Linked DNA regions of Homo sapiens: all the other regions are linked to region 1. The links are contacts of gene promoters, found by promoter capture Hi-C in blood cells and fetal thymus (Javierre and others, 2016). All regions are on one chromosome and are shown on one strand. The core of a region is centred on a gene start or on the middle of the fragment in contact, and the rest is flanking DNA. Distances in the headings are between cores, read along the strand shown.

Region 1 (5,022 bases), core at 639-3,138:
TGAGCCACTGCACCTTGCCATCATATGTCATCCTTTTTATGTACTGCTGGATTTTGCTTGCTAACATTTCTGCTTTTATGTTTGCATGTGATATTGTATTGTAATTGTCTTTTGTCAGGTTTCGATACCAGTGTGGTGCTAGCCTCATAAAACAAGCATCCAATCTCCTAATTTCTCTAAGAGTTAGTATAGAATTGGTATTACTCCTTCCTTAAATGTTTGGGAGAATTTAATAGTAAGGCCATTTGGCCTGGAGAGTGTTTGTTTGTTTTGTTGCTTTTGAGAAATGGTGTTGCTCTGTTGTCCAGGCTGGAGTACAATGGCACACTCACAGTTCACTGCAGCCTCGAACTCTCCAGCTCAAGTGATCCTCTCACCTCAGCCTCCCTAAGTAGTTGGGACTACAGATGAGCACCACCACGCCTGGCTAATATTTGTATTTTTTTTGTGGAGACAAGGGACAGGGTTTCACCATGTTGCCCAGGCTGGTCTGGAACTCCTGGTCTCAAGGGATCCACCTACTTCAGCCTCCCAAAGCCACTGTGCCTGCCCTGGCCTGAAGTTTTCTTGTAAGAAGTGGTGTGTGTGTGTGTGTGTGTGTGTGTGTGTGTGTGTGTGTGCAGAGAGAGAGGAGGGAGGCTTAACCAAAGATTCTGAGTACTACGATAAATACAGAGATACTCAAATTTTCTTCTTTTGTTGATTTTTGACAGTTTGCGTCTTTTAAGGAATTTGTCCATTTCACCTATGCTTATTGGCATAAAAATGTTCATAATGTTCTTTTAATATCCTTGTCCTTTTAATGACTAAATTTCATAGTGATGAAACCTTTTTAATTCCTGATACTGATAATTTGTTTATTTTCTTTATCAGTTTGGGTAGGGGGGTTATCAATTATATTGCTCTTTTAGAAAAACAACTTTTGCATGTATTTCCTTCCATTTATTTCATCCCATTTATTTCTACTATTTATCATTTCATTCATTTTGCTTGCTTTGGTTTCAATATGCTGGGGGTTTTTTCTAGTTACTTAAGACAAAAGTTTATTGAATTGAGTTCTTCTTTTTAATGTAAGCAGGTACTGTTACAAATTTTAGTGTTTTCATTTTAATTTAATTCAACGTATTTTCTAATTTTCCTGTGATTTTTCCTGATTCACAGGTTAGTTAGAAGTATGATTCTTAATTTCCAAATATTTAGAGTATTTCAAGTATCTACTTTATTTCTAGTTTAATGCCATTATGATCAGACTATACACTTTGTACGATTTAAATCTTTTTAAAGTTGATGACATTTGTTTTATGGCTCGGAATATGGTATCGCTTAGTGAATGTTTCATGTGCACTTGACAGGAGTGTGTATTCTGCTATTGTTGGGTTGGTCACCTATAAACGTCAATTAGGTCAAGTTGGTTAGTGCTTTCCAAGTTTTCCATATCCATACTAATTTTCTGTCTACTTGTTCCATCTGTTACAGAGAAAATTAATTGTTGCACTTGCCTGCCTCACAGTCCATGGACAAAAGGCATCTGCATTCTAACAAGAGTTGCTGGCCCCAGAGCGGGAAGAGGGGACGGCGCGACTGTGGGTGTGAACGAGGCACTCACTTCGCACTCACTGGAGTAAATATCTTCTCTTTGGTCCGGCCAGAGGATAAACCCATAGTCCTTAAGTCCTCTCCTCCGCCTCAGCAGCAGTTCTGTTTTTTTTTTTTTACCAGGCCCCGCCTTTCAGCCGAACGCACCAATTAAAGGTACAAAAAAAAAAGTTTCTCAGTACCTCGTCCCGGACTGACGGACTCTCGCGAGAATTCGTGGGGCTCCGACTGTTTCCGCGCAGATATCGCGAGGCGATTGGTAGCCGGGGGAGGGCTGCGCCGTGGCCCCGCCTTTCCGGAGCGCGGGCGCGCGGTGGCGGGAATTTCGCCTGTTTGCGGTTTAGACCCCAAAGATTCCTGTTGGTGGTCTGGGTCACAGGAGGCAGGTTTCGGGAGCTGGAAATGTGAGCGGGTACGACAGGCACCGCGGGTAACCGACGCCCCGGGTCCTTGCTGCAGCCGGGTACGCGGGATACCGGCACCCCGCCTTCTCCGCCCGAGTGCTGCCAGGCGTGGGCCTGGTGGGTCTCGCCTCCTCCTTGGAGGGTCGGGGTTGGCCCTAGGGGTTGCTTTCCTAATTTCCACCCCGAGCCGGGGAGGGAGCGTTCTCCACCCTGCTGCTGGGAAACGGGCGGAGAGTGGTTTAGAAACGTTGCGGAGGGCGCAGTTCTAGGCAAGCCCGGGACGCTATGTCCTGCAGACATTTCTTTGCTTTTCACCTTGTCCTGGGCTGCAGAGCCCGACTTAGTGGCCGGATTTCGAGGTCCCTGCCACAGCCAGTTGGTTGTGCATTTTGTCTTAAGTTCTGACAGCCTTGATGGACGGAGGGCGAGGGGGAATTGGGAATTTGGCCTCTGGGTTTGTTCGTTTGTTTTTCCTTCCTGCTGGCGGACGTCTTGAGAACTTTCTGAAGTAATCCCCACTCTCTCGGCCCCACCCCCCCCCCCCCAACAGGAATCTCTTCACACCTTCTCTTTGGAGCCCTTAATGATACGACGAACCCCAAGTGTTTCAGAACATGAAGTAAACAATGGAGAACTGTTCTGCTGCATCGACGTTCCTGACTGACAGCTTAGAGCTGGAGCTGGGGACGGAATGGTGCAAACCTCCTTACTTTTCTTGTGCTGTTGACAACAGAGGAGGAGGAAAACATTTTTCTGGAGAATCCTACCTCTGCAGCGGAGCCCTTAAGCGGTAGGTAAAACTCAGAGACATTTTCCCTCATCTGATTATTCACCAGTTTTTTAGGAATGTTAGTTATTTCAGCCCATTAAACTTTGGTGTTCACCAAGTCGTGTTTTATAAATCAGCTTAGTATATCATAAGGGTACAAATGATTATCAGTTCTGCTGGCTTCTTGGTAAGGGCATATCTAAAGTATTTGGGGTATTAGGGAAAACTTCCTTGGTAACTGATGTTCCCTTACTGTAGGGAGCTGGGCACTAATTTTTCTTCTACTTAAAATGAATTCCTAACTATCTGAGCCTTTTGCAGTAGTATTTCCTTCTAAAGAGTGTGATAATATTCTAGAGCTTTCCAGTAATATTTAAGAGAGACAAACATTTTTTATTGCCCCTGTTCCTTCTAATCCTACCTGCACATATAGAAGTGTATAGACTTATTTTGCCTTGGGCAGGTACATATATATTACAGTAAAACTGTTCTTGAAATATTTTGGTAATACCTGCTGAGGCAGTTTCAGTGAGGAAACTATTTTTGTTGACCTTATAGTTGTACCTTGTTAGAAATCTTAAATAGAATACTCAACTTCATTAGTTGGATACTATTCTCCAGACATGGCTCAGAATAACTGTTAGCAGTTTTAAAATTAAATGTCCCCTCAAAGGATGAAATTCTACAACTGAAGACTACTGGTGAAGACAGGCAGAAATATGTTTTTTAGAATTCTTGTTGATTTTTCCTCTTAAGTTACATTACACTTTAGTCGTACATTTTATCAATATAGAAGATTGACGTTTTAATACAGTCTAGCTATTGTAATCTTGAATGTGTAAAGTACCAAGGCATTTTCTGACTTTTTATACATGTCATGTATAATATGGATTCAAATAATGTAAAGAAAAGAGCCGTCGTATTATGGTACTTAGTATACTTTTTATGAGATTGAAACAATTTTCATTTCAGATTGATTTTGAATCTTGACCCTTTACCAACTAATTTTGAAGAAGATACCTTGGAAATATTTGGCATTCAGTGGGTTACTGAAACAGCATTAGTGAATTCATCTAGAGAACTCTTTCATTTATTCAGGTATTTCTTCGTTATAACTTTCTGTGAGTGTAGGTGTTGTTCACTTTTGTAAATTACGTTGTTGGGTGGCTTCTAATACTGATATTACAAAAGACCAGAGGAATTGTGCTGGTTGCTCACTTGATTATCTTACCAGTAACAATAATCAAGCAGCAATGCCTGATGAGTAATGGTTTTAATGAGTTGCGTTTTCAGAATCTTTATTCTTTGCATTTGACACATGTATTGACAAATATTTAAGGCTTTGAACTATAATTTTTAGAAGAAAATTAAAATATTTTTGTTGTGCAATAGCCATAGTCTTTCAGTGATCTTTAGAGTATGGTCTTAACAAATAAATTGTTTAGACTGTGTAATAGAAATATTAATTATTTGGACAACATTTAAAATTTTTTTAATGAAAAATTTTAAGCATACACAAAATAATAATATAATGAACATCCATATACCCTCCTTCAGTTGCAGTAAACAACAACTTTTTATTACATTTCCTTCATCTGTCTTGTCTCCTCTTCTTTTGGCCTAAGTATTTGTAAGGAAATCCTAGGCATCATGTCGTTTCACCCATAAATACTTCAGTATGAATTTCTTAAAAATATGTGCTTTTTAAAAACGATGAGGACGGCCAGGCGCGGTGGCTCATGCTTGTAATCCCAGCACTTTGGGAGGCCGAGGCGGGAGTTCGAGACCAGCCTGACCAACATGGTGAAGCCCCTTCTGTACTAAAAATACAAAAATTAGCCAGGCGTGATGGCATGCGTCTGTAATCCCAGCTACTCAGGAGGCTGAGGCAGGAGAACTGCTTGAACCCAGGAGGCGGAGGTTGCAGTGATTTGAGATTGCCCACTGTACTCCAGCCTGGGTGACAGAGCGAGACTCTGTCTCAAAAAAAAAACTCATCTCAATTAATAAAAATTAAAGTTCTTCATTATCATTTAAGACACAGTTCATATTCAGATTTTAGGTAATTTTAAACAGGAGTCAGTTATTGAAAGCTAATTATTCCAAAACACAGTAAAAATCTATATGTGATACATTTAAAGGAAAATGGAGAGGTGGAAGGAATTCTCTCACCATCATCCCATGAAACCTTTTGAAGAGACTTAAACTGTATCTACGCCATGTCATACGTTTTATTGATAGAACAGGCTCAGT
Region 2 (5,022 bases), core at 984-3,483, 110 kb after region 1:
GTCTCCATGCGCAGATCTGTATTCTTTCCTTTTGTCTAGGTTTCAAAGACTAGGAAGAGTATATTGCTACAGTGTTGCCCATTTATTTGTTAGGAATTAGGATAGGTAACTTAATGATTTCTTCATGTTAAAGGATTAGAATAAAACAGAGAAAGAGCAAAGTATAAACTTTGGAGAGCTCCAAGGTGTTTTAAAATGTGTTGGGGTTGGGATAGCATAACCATTTGAGGGAAGGAGTTAACCACTGAAACACTGTACTCTATTTACCTTGACAGTTCCTAACTGGGGACACCTCTGCTGTTCACTTACAAGGTTGCAAGACTGCTAGTGAAAGGCACAGAACTGTTGATGAAATCACCTTTCATATTAAGGAGAAGGCATCTGTGATCTTAATTGTAGCTCAGTTATTTCTGAAAAGGCATGGTGGATCCATCAACTTCTCTCCTCTGTAGATTTTGTTTTGTTTTGTTTTTCTCATTCTTCATATCTGATAGTTTTCTGTTTCCATGTATAAAGCTTTCAATCATCCCTGTCTCTTTGGCCATTCTTCCCCATTTTGCTTTGTAATTGAAATTCAAGTCATGACCCTTTGGTGCCAAGTGCAAATTTCCCCACTTTTCCCACATTGCCAAGTAGACTTGATCATCTCTCTCATTACACTTCATCTATCCTTTTCTTGTGATATGATATTATTTATAGTTTGCCATTTGTTAAAATTACTTGTGTACTTGACATGCCCCCACCAAATTTCAAACTTGTAGTAGCCATCTCTTGAATTTTTTATTCCCATTGTCATGTATTTTGAACAAAAAAGAACAATTATTATGTATCAGGTGCTGGATTGAGAGTTAGGGATACATTAGTTAAAGAGCTCCAAAGTAGGAGATAGTGTATACTATATAAATATTTATGGAATTTAATGACTTTATTAATCTAGCAATAGTATATATTTTTTAATGTTCTTTTTGTTTTTCTTTGTTGTTGTTGTTTTTGAGACAGAGTCTCCCTCTGTCACCTATGCTGAAGTGCAGTGACGTGATCTCAGCTCACCGCAACCTCTGCCTCTGGGTTTAAACAATTCTCGTGCCTCAGTCTCCTGAGTAGCTGGGACTGCAGATGTGCACCACCATGCCTGGTTAATTTTTGTATTTTTACTACAGACAGGATCTCACTATGTTACCAAAGCTGGTCTTGAACTCCTGGGCTCAAGCAGCCTGCCTGCCTCAGCCTCCCAAAGTGCTGGGATTACAGGTGTGAGCCGCTGTACGCAGCTTTTAATGTTCTTAAATGAACAAAATTACTTTCTAACTATAAAGATTTAAAAATGTATATTGTAGTGATCCCAATTTTTACGTAGGGTAGAAAGTAGGCAAAATACATAGGATAGAAAATACAGAGGATAGAAAATGAGTAAATACTCAAGAGCTTGTATAGTGGTTATCATTGAATGGAGAGATTGTATTAAATTTTTTTGTATTTTCAGTTTTATTTGTTAATAAATAATATATTTATAGCCAGAAAAAGAAAAAAAAAAACTTAGGTTTTTACAAAGGTACTGTATGTATTTAAACCTTTCCCAGTTTTTTACTTTAAAAATCTTTTTATATTTCCATTTTGCATTTTTAATAACACACACACAAATATTCATTGCTGAAACCTAAAAAGTAGGTGTCTGATAGCAAGGAGTAAAACAAATATCTCCACCTTATATGAACTCCTAAAGCTTACAGTCTTCAACAAAGTGTTTCAACCGTTGCAGAAAATGAAATACAGTAGTTTCCCCTTATTCATGAGGGATATGTTCAACACCACTAGTGGATGCCTGAAACCGCAGATAGTACCAATCCTATGTATGCTGTGTTTTTGCCTATACATACATACTTATGATAAGGTTTAATTCATAAATAAGGCACATAAGAGTTTAACATAATAACTAATAATAGTATTAATAGAACAGTTGTGACAATAGACTCTAATAAAAGTTATGTGAACTTTGTGTCTCTCTCTGACTGCCTTCCCCACCCCCTCGTCAAAATATCTTATTGGTATCCTATACCACGGGCAACTAAACTATACCACGTGGTACCCTATATCACCGGTAACTAAACTATACCATGTGGTACCCTATAGCACGGGTAACTAAAACTGTAGAAAGTGAAACATACCTGTATTGCACCTGAGAGTAATAAGAATCATTTCATATGCCAGTGATGATAGCAGTTCCCCTTACAGGTATATTAATGTTTTTAGAATATAAGTTCTTCTAATATTGCTGTCATACTGAAATTCTCCACCAACTGAAGAAATGAGGAGCAAGCCAGCATTATTTAAAACTTTGCTAAGTGAACATTGTTTCTTTATGATTGATTATTGTACTTCCTTTTACAACAAAAGATGAATGTTGCTGTTTGTTCTTAAAAGTGATAATTTGTTGAGTTTTTTTCTTTAACATCAGTATACTTTTCCATAAGCATATTTTGGTTTTCCTTCAGAGCTTAAATTTTAAACTCTTTATTTGATGGAAATGACTTTGAATTTTATCGTTTTTGCTTTCTAGGATGGAATAAAATATAAAAGTTTATGCAGTAGATGTACCACTGTGCTTTTTGGATAAGCATTTAATCTGTTTTTAAATTCATTTTTCAGTAAGGAGACCTCAATAGTAATAATATATCCTAATGGGAATTATATATCTGCTCTTAATTACTTTATTAAACAAAGGGTGCTCATTTGTTAAGCTTTATTATCATCAGATGTGGCAATTAACAGACTTCTAGCACCAAGGAAGCCATAATATATTTCAAGTAGCAAAGAAATCTGTTTCTCTTCATTCAGAATTAAAATTTTGTTTGTTTATATTAAATAATGGAAAGGTGTAAAAACTGAAGTTCATGGAGGTTAACTGAAGTTGGTGGAGGTTAAGTGATTAGCTTATAGCTAATCCTGCTTTCCATGTATTAACAATTAAATTTAATTATACTTCTGTTGCAAACTGGATTGAGGCCACTTACATGTAAGATTAAAATATGAAGAAATAGGGGTACCAACAAATAAATATAGAGTTTCATGGTGAGGCCCAGGGAAAATTAGTATGCATATAAAACCATAATGTATAATCCTACAGTATTCTTTAAAAGGTGGATTGTTAATTTGCATTTGGGCATCCTAGCAACTCAGAGGGAAAGCAGAAAGGGAAATCCTGAATAATTTCAACATTCAGCCAATGTAGTCACATAATGTATAAATATATTCCACTGTATGTGTGAGTGTAAACAGGTTGACTAGCCCTTGTCTAAAATTCTTGGGACTAGAAGTATTTTGGAGTTCAGATTTTTTTGGATTTTGGAATACTTGTAGTATACTTAACCAGTTGAGCACCCCTAATCCAACAGTGTGAAATTTGAAATGGTCTAATGAGCATTTCTTTTGATCATCATGTTGGCACTCACAAACTTTTGGATTTTGGAGCGTTTCAGATTTTATATTTTCAGATTAGGGATACTTAACCAGTGTATATATTAAATGCCAGTTGCTCGGAAAATGTATGTTTTCCTTGGCCCAAAACTCTATGAAAAATTTGTCTCTTTAGTGAAATATATGAATTGACATAAATATTTGTTACTTCTACTATATGTCTCTTCCTATTCCCTACTTTAATTTGGTCCCATGTGCTTTCAATACAAATTTTTAAATTAAGTGACAAAATGTTCTGGTCAGAGGATAACAACAACATGCTGTTACTTCTCTTCTTTGTTAGGAATTCTTGTGAAATCATGGGCACAAATCTTTGCCACTTCTAAAGCCCAAAAATTACTATTCCGGATCATAGATTGTTTACTGCTGCCACATGCAGTATTACAGCAAGAGAAGGAACTGCCTGCACCTATGTTGTCAGCAATTCAGAAAAGTCTTCCTTTGTATCTCCAGGTATAGTATCTGTGGTTGCTTAAAAGTTTAAAAAAAAAATATTGAAACTTTGCCTTAAAAACATAGTTTACTAAATGCAGATTTAAAAACTGTACATTATAATCTCAAATGCTTGTGTGGCACATTTATTGAACATATTTTAAATTGCTTTTATGTTTGGCTTTGGAAACAAAAATGAAAAAGCAGAGGAGCTTAAAGTTGAGAGAGGAGGTAGATGAGCACAGACACTTATGGTAGTGTGCTCAGTATTTTTTTTTTCAGACCTCATCTATTAGACTATGGGTGAGGAGATATAAGAGAATACACTGTAGAGGACATCAGAGGTAAAAGAGCAAAATGGGTAGGAGTTGGAGGGCTTTTCATTTCAGAGGGAGCAACATGTACAAGGGCATGAGCTTTAAGAAAATATAGAATGGTTCTGTTGTGGCTGGAGAGTCATATGGGAGGAGCCATGTAATGGAGGGCTTTATATTCCATCCTAAGAAGTTTGGACTTAATCTTTTACATGGGGACCTGATGAATTTGGAGCAGAGAAGTAGAAGTGACATAATGATATTTACATTTTAGAAAGATGATTCTGGTGGTCATATGTAAGATAATTGGTGTGGAGGTTTTGGAAAGCAGTGGTAACTAGTTCCTTGTAATAATCCACATATTGTCAGAAGGTTTTGACCTAAGGCAGTGGGAATAAAACCCATAACAGCAGATTTCAAAAACATTTGGGAGCTGTGATTAAGAGTACTTGCTAATTGAGTGTTGTGGAGGAACTCAAAGAAGTGAAATGCTTCCTAGATTCCAGAGTGGCTATCTGCGTAGATAGTAGTTCTACTTACTAACGTGGGAAATCCTGGAGATGTCGGGATGAAGGTAAGGATTGGTTTCTGAGCAGCTTTAGTTTGAGGTAGGCAGTTGGAAATATTGATCTGCCATTCAGGAAAGGATGAGACTGGAGGTGTACTTTATTATTCATTAGTGTCTGATGTTAAAGATAAGTGCTTCTTAATTTGAGGTCCAACAAGGGAAGCTGAGGAGGAAAGGGAAAATGGATTTTGATTATGTAACAATCTTTTTTCAAAGATGTATTTCTTAACAGAG
Region 3 (5,022 bases), core at 1,000-3,499, 94 kb after region 1:
TGGAATAATTACTCATAGTGGTTTGGAACAACTTTTTGACTTAAAATTTTCCATTATATTTTTCACTAATAAAGATTTTTTTAAAGTTACCATGTTTGCAGTAGAGTTAAAAGAATTCAATTATTGCTGTTAATCCTTACCAGTCATATTTATTATATTATGCTTTTTCCATGTGATGAAAAGTCCATCAATAGACAATTTTAATTTTCCTTAAACTTTGAGGCATCATGTATTAGAAATAATTAATATACAACTGTGAATACCAGGAAAGTGGTATATAGGATGTCATACCTTATTCTATAACAGTTATAGGAGAAACAATGGTATGCCAAGATTAGAGGCGAAAACTATAAGCAGTGGTCCAGTAAGTGTTCCCAGAAGCCTGCCTAAGTTACTAGGGAGGAGCAGAAACTGAGAGACCAGACTGGCAGGTAGAAGTTTCAGGTACAGGGTTCCATGCGTCTCATATGATAGATGCCTCAATAAATTTGTGTGTCTGTGGGGATAAGGTATCTGTGTGGGAGTAGAGAGGTGGGGGCAAAATGGATAAGTAAACATGAAATCAAAGCAAGAAGTAGCAGACAAATAAAAACAGGAAATCTTGGAAAGTGGGGCAAAAGAGCAGTCAGATGAAAGAATCAGGAAAATACTTGAAGATAATGAGGAAAGCTAAAGGAGGCAGGGTAACTGAGCTAAAATAGAAGCGTAGGAACACCTGGATAATTGGTATGTGAAAGTGTGGGTGTTTATATAGTGTAATGATAGGCTTCTAAACTTTTCAGAATGTTATTTCCTGTGGTCTTCACAATAACCCTGTTAGGTGGATATAGCAACAATTGTTCCTGTTCTTGACTCTAAAGAAAACAGCGAGTTGGGAGGTTACTTGTTTTTCCAAAGCCACACTGCTCTGGATAGCTATGCTAATAACCATGTTTATTACGCAGCATAATTACTCCTTTTGTCTCAATTTTCTCATATATAAGATTTGAATAATAATTATGCCTACCTCATAGGGTGAGAAACGATGCTTATAAAACACTTTGCATGGTGCTGGTCTCATAGTAAATACCAGTAAATGCTGGATGTTGCTGTTATTTCCACCATGAGAGCTGCAATTTGAATAACTTGACATTCAGCAAATTTATTTTCTACTATACTGTATTGTATCTTTTATAATGTAAGAGAGCTGGTTACATGTGTGTATTTCCTTATCTGATCTTGTATTTCCAAACTGATCTTAATGTGAAATCTGTCTTTACTCAAATAAAACAATTGCCAAGTGTTGGGAGATCCTACATCCTTGTGTTATGTCTTTCAGTTTCTGACCAGAAATCACATATTTTTCCTTTTATGCAAAAAATCTACTTACATATTTCTACTGTTTGTGTTGAAGAAGGTAAATAATGCCTCATAAAACAGCCATCACCTAGAACTATATTACATTCTTTATAATATTTTATGTATGTTTTGTGTTTTCTTTTACATTGTTACCTCTAGTGACAGAGCTTCTTCTTTGCATTTTTGTAAATGTACCTTCAGCAGATATGCAGTGGTCACATCTAATATAATTTATTTTTCAGTAGTCTGTATAATTAGTTTTCTGGTTCAAACATGTGATTTTAAAAAATTACCAGTGTCTGCAAGGAGTATTTCTAGCTATTTGGCTATAGTGCAAAAATTTGGTTCTTCCTTCAGACTTCTATTACAGTGCACTCTTGGCATTTCCTGTATTTGTCACTCACTGATTTCTTTATGCTTAAATAAATTATTATTATAAGGTCTTAAACAACTAGGTTCTGGTTTAAAATAGCAGGTAATCATTTCTTCTTATCCAGACTGAAAAAGCTTGAACTTTCAAACTATTGAGCAGGAAACATTTTGCATATTCCCGGGGATATTAGCTGCTTTTCAAATCCAAAAACACAAAGTGGGTGCACATTTCCAACACAAGTGTGGTTTGGGGTCAGTGTCTTACCCTTAGTTGAAACTTGTCTTAGCTGTTTTAACTCAACCTTGGAGGATGTAATCTATAGCTTTAAAATTTTTTACCTCACAATGGTTTTTTTTTTTTAATTAATTATTCTTTTTTTTTTTTTTTTTTTTTTTTTTTTGGAGACAGAGTCTCGCTGTTGCCCAGGCTGGAGTGCAGTGGTGCAATCTCAGCTCACTGCAACCTCTGCCTCAAGCAATCCTCCAGCCTAAGCCTCCCAAGAAGCTAGGACTACAGGCACATGTCACCACGCCCGGCTAATTTTTTGTATTTTTAATAGAGATGGGGTTTCACTATGTTGCCCAGGCTGGTCTTGAAATCCTGAGCTCAGGCAATCCACCCACCTCAGCCTCCCAAAATGCTGGGATTAGAGGTATAAGCCACTGCACTCGGCTTTTTTTTTTTTTTTAAACCTAATGGATTCAGAACTTTGAGTCCTATCCCCACGTTAGCTCATACTTATACTCCCTGGTACCTCAACGTTTTGTTGTGGAGAGGTCAAAGGTGGTTCACATTTGTTGGCCTTTCTCATTATTGCCTTGAATACATGTTTTCTAGCATCTCTTCTTATAGTCTTTCCTAATGTTAGAATTCTGATGTTGCTCCTGGCCCTTCAAAAGACACAGCTACATGTGGCTTTTCCAGCCCCTTTTCTTAAGCTTTCTGAAATTCCTTTATTTTATTTATTATTATTATTATTTTTAAATTATTTTGAGAAAGTCTTGCTCTGTCACCCAAGTTGGAGTGCAGTGGCACAATCTCGGCTCACTGCAACCTCCACCTCCTGGGTTCAAGCAATTCTCCTACCTCAGCCTCCTGAGTTGCTGGGATTACAAGCGTGTACCATCATGCCCGGCTAATTTTTTTGTATTTTTATTAGGGAGGGGATTTCACCATGTTGGTCAGGTTGGTCTTGAACTGCTGGCCTCGAGTGATCCACCCACCCTGGCCTCCCAAAGTGCTGGGATGAAATTTCTTTAACCTAAGTAGAAAGAGAAGATAATTTATCAATGTTTAATTCACTTAAAACTTGTGTATGTGTAGGCGCATAAGGGTGCATGTCTTAGTGTGTAAAAAGAAAAGTGGGCTTCAGAGTCAGATTTAAGTTCAGATGATGGGGCCAGCCCTTTCTAGCCATGTGACCTTTGGGCATATTTAGCTTTCCTACTGTTAGCTTCGTCATCTATAAAGAGGATTAATGATACCTATCTCATAGAGTTGTTCCGATTTTAAAAGAATTTAATTAATTTAAGGAATTTCTAGCACATATATAGAGGTCGATCAGAAATGTTACTCCTTCCTAGGGAATAGGTTTTAGTTAGTAAATAAAATGGCTTTTTTAGATATGGTGAGCAAAATCCATCCTACTCAAGTACCATAAGTTATTTATTGTCTTTTGAAACCAATATACTTTGAAAAAGCTATAAAGGGCAGTAGAAATGGTGGTATTATTTTACATGGATTCCACTGTGTAGAAATGTACTGTGAACTTTGCTATGTTGATATAGGCAGTTGAGTTAGTTGCCAGATAGATTTTAGTGGTTTGTTATTTATCTCACTCTAAGATAAAGGAACTGAAATGGTTCTCTAGCCACTAGTTCAAGTTGAAAGCATCTCAAGAAGTTTTTACAGAGAGGACATAGCAGATATTTGGTTAGCTTTTATGAGAATTGTTTACTGTATACTCTTTCCCCAGCCATTTGTTCACTTGTTTTTTGAATATTTCCTGTAGTATTAAGTAATATCCCATAATTTTCCAGGAATTCCAATGTAAAGGGGCTCAAGGCCCTAATGTTATACAGTTTATACTTAGAATTTTTACTCACTCTTGGGTAGTTATGCGAAATATTCTAAGATGTGATCTTATAACCAGCTTGATCTTTTTGTGGGATTGCTTTAGATACACATGCTAGTTCTGTGTTTTGTATAGTTCTTTCATGTTATCCACTTCCCCTAAACTGTTTAAAAACATCAAACATCTTTTTTAAAGTACTTAATTATTTTTCTTAGTGGAATGCTATCTCTATTAAAGGAAGTCTTCTCCATAATTTCCATTGGTTATTTTTTGCTGCTTTCTGTATAATTGAAAAAAAAATGCAAATGTAAATGTATCCATGCATTTATGTCTACTCAGTTGATCTGGCAGTAATATAAACAGAAACAGGAATAATAGCATGGTTGTACATTTAGTTTTAAATAATCATATTATCAGTGGGTGCACAACATAAATGCCTTCTGTTCCACATCACTAAGAAGATCTCTTATTTCCCTCTCTTTGGTAACCTCAATTTCCTGCACGTTTCTATTAAGGTCTAGAGATATCTAAATTTTCGATTGAATTAATCAGCAAAGGTGAGTAAATGATTAATCAAAATTTGAGGCAGTATCGAATTATGTTTTATTATTTTATGAAGAGCAACTTGTTATTGTATATTATTGCCTACCAAGTGAGAATGATTATGAATCTTTTGGGACCAAAGTAGTAAGATTGTATCTAGCATAGTTTTGTCTACTACACAAGGCCTGTGTCTTCTAAACAAGGAAAGTATTTTAATTTAAAATACCACGCATAAGCCAGTTGTACTTACCTTCCTCTTGGTACATCCATGTCCTAAAGCCCTCAGGAGAAAATTGTTTTAAAAATTGTTTTCATGTCTAGATTTTAAGTAAAAATCACTTGTCATGTGTGAGTTGCAAAATGCAGACCTTCATTCTGAAGCTGCCTCTTTCTCATTTGGATCTGACATATTAAAAAGCATATAATTAATGGTTGACATTAGTAGTTAACATTAACTTTATGATGCTTAATATGCCATCATTCATCCATCAAACAACCAGAAATGCATAATGTCTTGGCATAAAGGTTTTAATTATATAAAATGTTTCTCATATGATATAAATGGAAAAAGCTCAAAATGTACTTTAAGAAGATTTTTGTAAGCATTTATTAAGGGTGTTAGCTGTATTTTTATTTCTTTTTAGGAGTATGCATCAACAATTGTGTCAGGAACTTCAAAGGGACAATGTGGACC

What was found. The method cuts DNA at HindIII sites, captures the fragments that hold promoters and counts their contacts. A CHiCAGO score of 5 or more calls a contact.
Region 2: a fragment that was not itself captured here is called in contact with the fragment with the promoter of MMS22L in region 1 in 1 of 17 cell types (erythroblasts); the score reaches 6.6 in erythroblasts.
Region 3: a contact is called between a fragment that was not itself captured here and the fragment with the promoter of MMS22L in region 1, in 1 of 17 cell types (erythroblasts). The highest score is 5.5, in erythroblasts.

What each region holds. Positions count from the first base shown.
Region 1 is chr6:97,280,082-97,285,103 of GRCh38, reverse strand. MMS22L (MMS22 like, DNA repair protein) reads left to right here and starts at 1,888. Exons shown (of 25, transcript NM_001350599.2): 1 at 1,888-2,008; 2 at 2,551-2,790; 3 at 3,742-3,867. The coding sequence starts at 2,627. RefSeq lists enhancers at 1,612-1,671, 2,052-2,311. The HindIII fragment of the contact is 13,882 bases long and covers 1-5,022 here.
Region 2 is chr6:97,166,976-97,171,997 of GRCh38, reverse strand. MMS22L (MMS22 like, DNA repair protein) reads left to right here. Exons shown (of 25, transcript NM_001350599.2): 20 at 3,758-3,927. Among named protein-coding and RNA genes, the nearest start is that of MMS22L, 110 kb to the left of the region's middle. The HindIII fragment of the contact is 1,015 bases long and covers 1,726-2,740 here.
Region 3 is chr6:97,186,641-97,191,662 of GRCh38, reverse strand. MMS22L (MMS22 like, DNA repair protein) reads left to right here. Exons shown (of 25, transcript NM_001350599.2): 15 at 4,973-5,022. Among named protein-coding and RNA genes, the nearest start is that of MMS22L, 94 kb to the left of the region's middle. The HindIII fragment of the contact is 804 bases long and covers 1,848-2,651 here.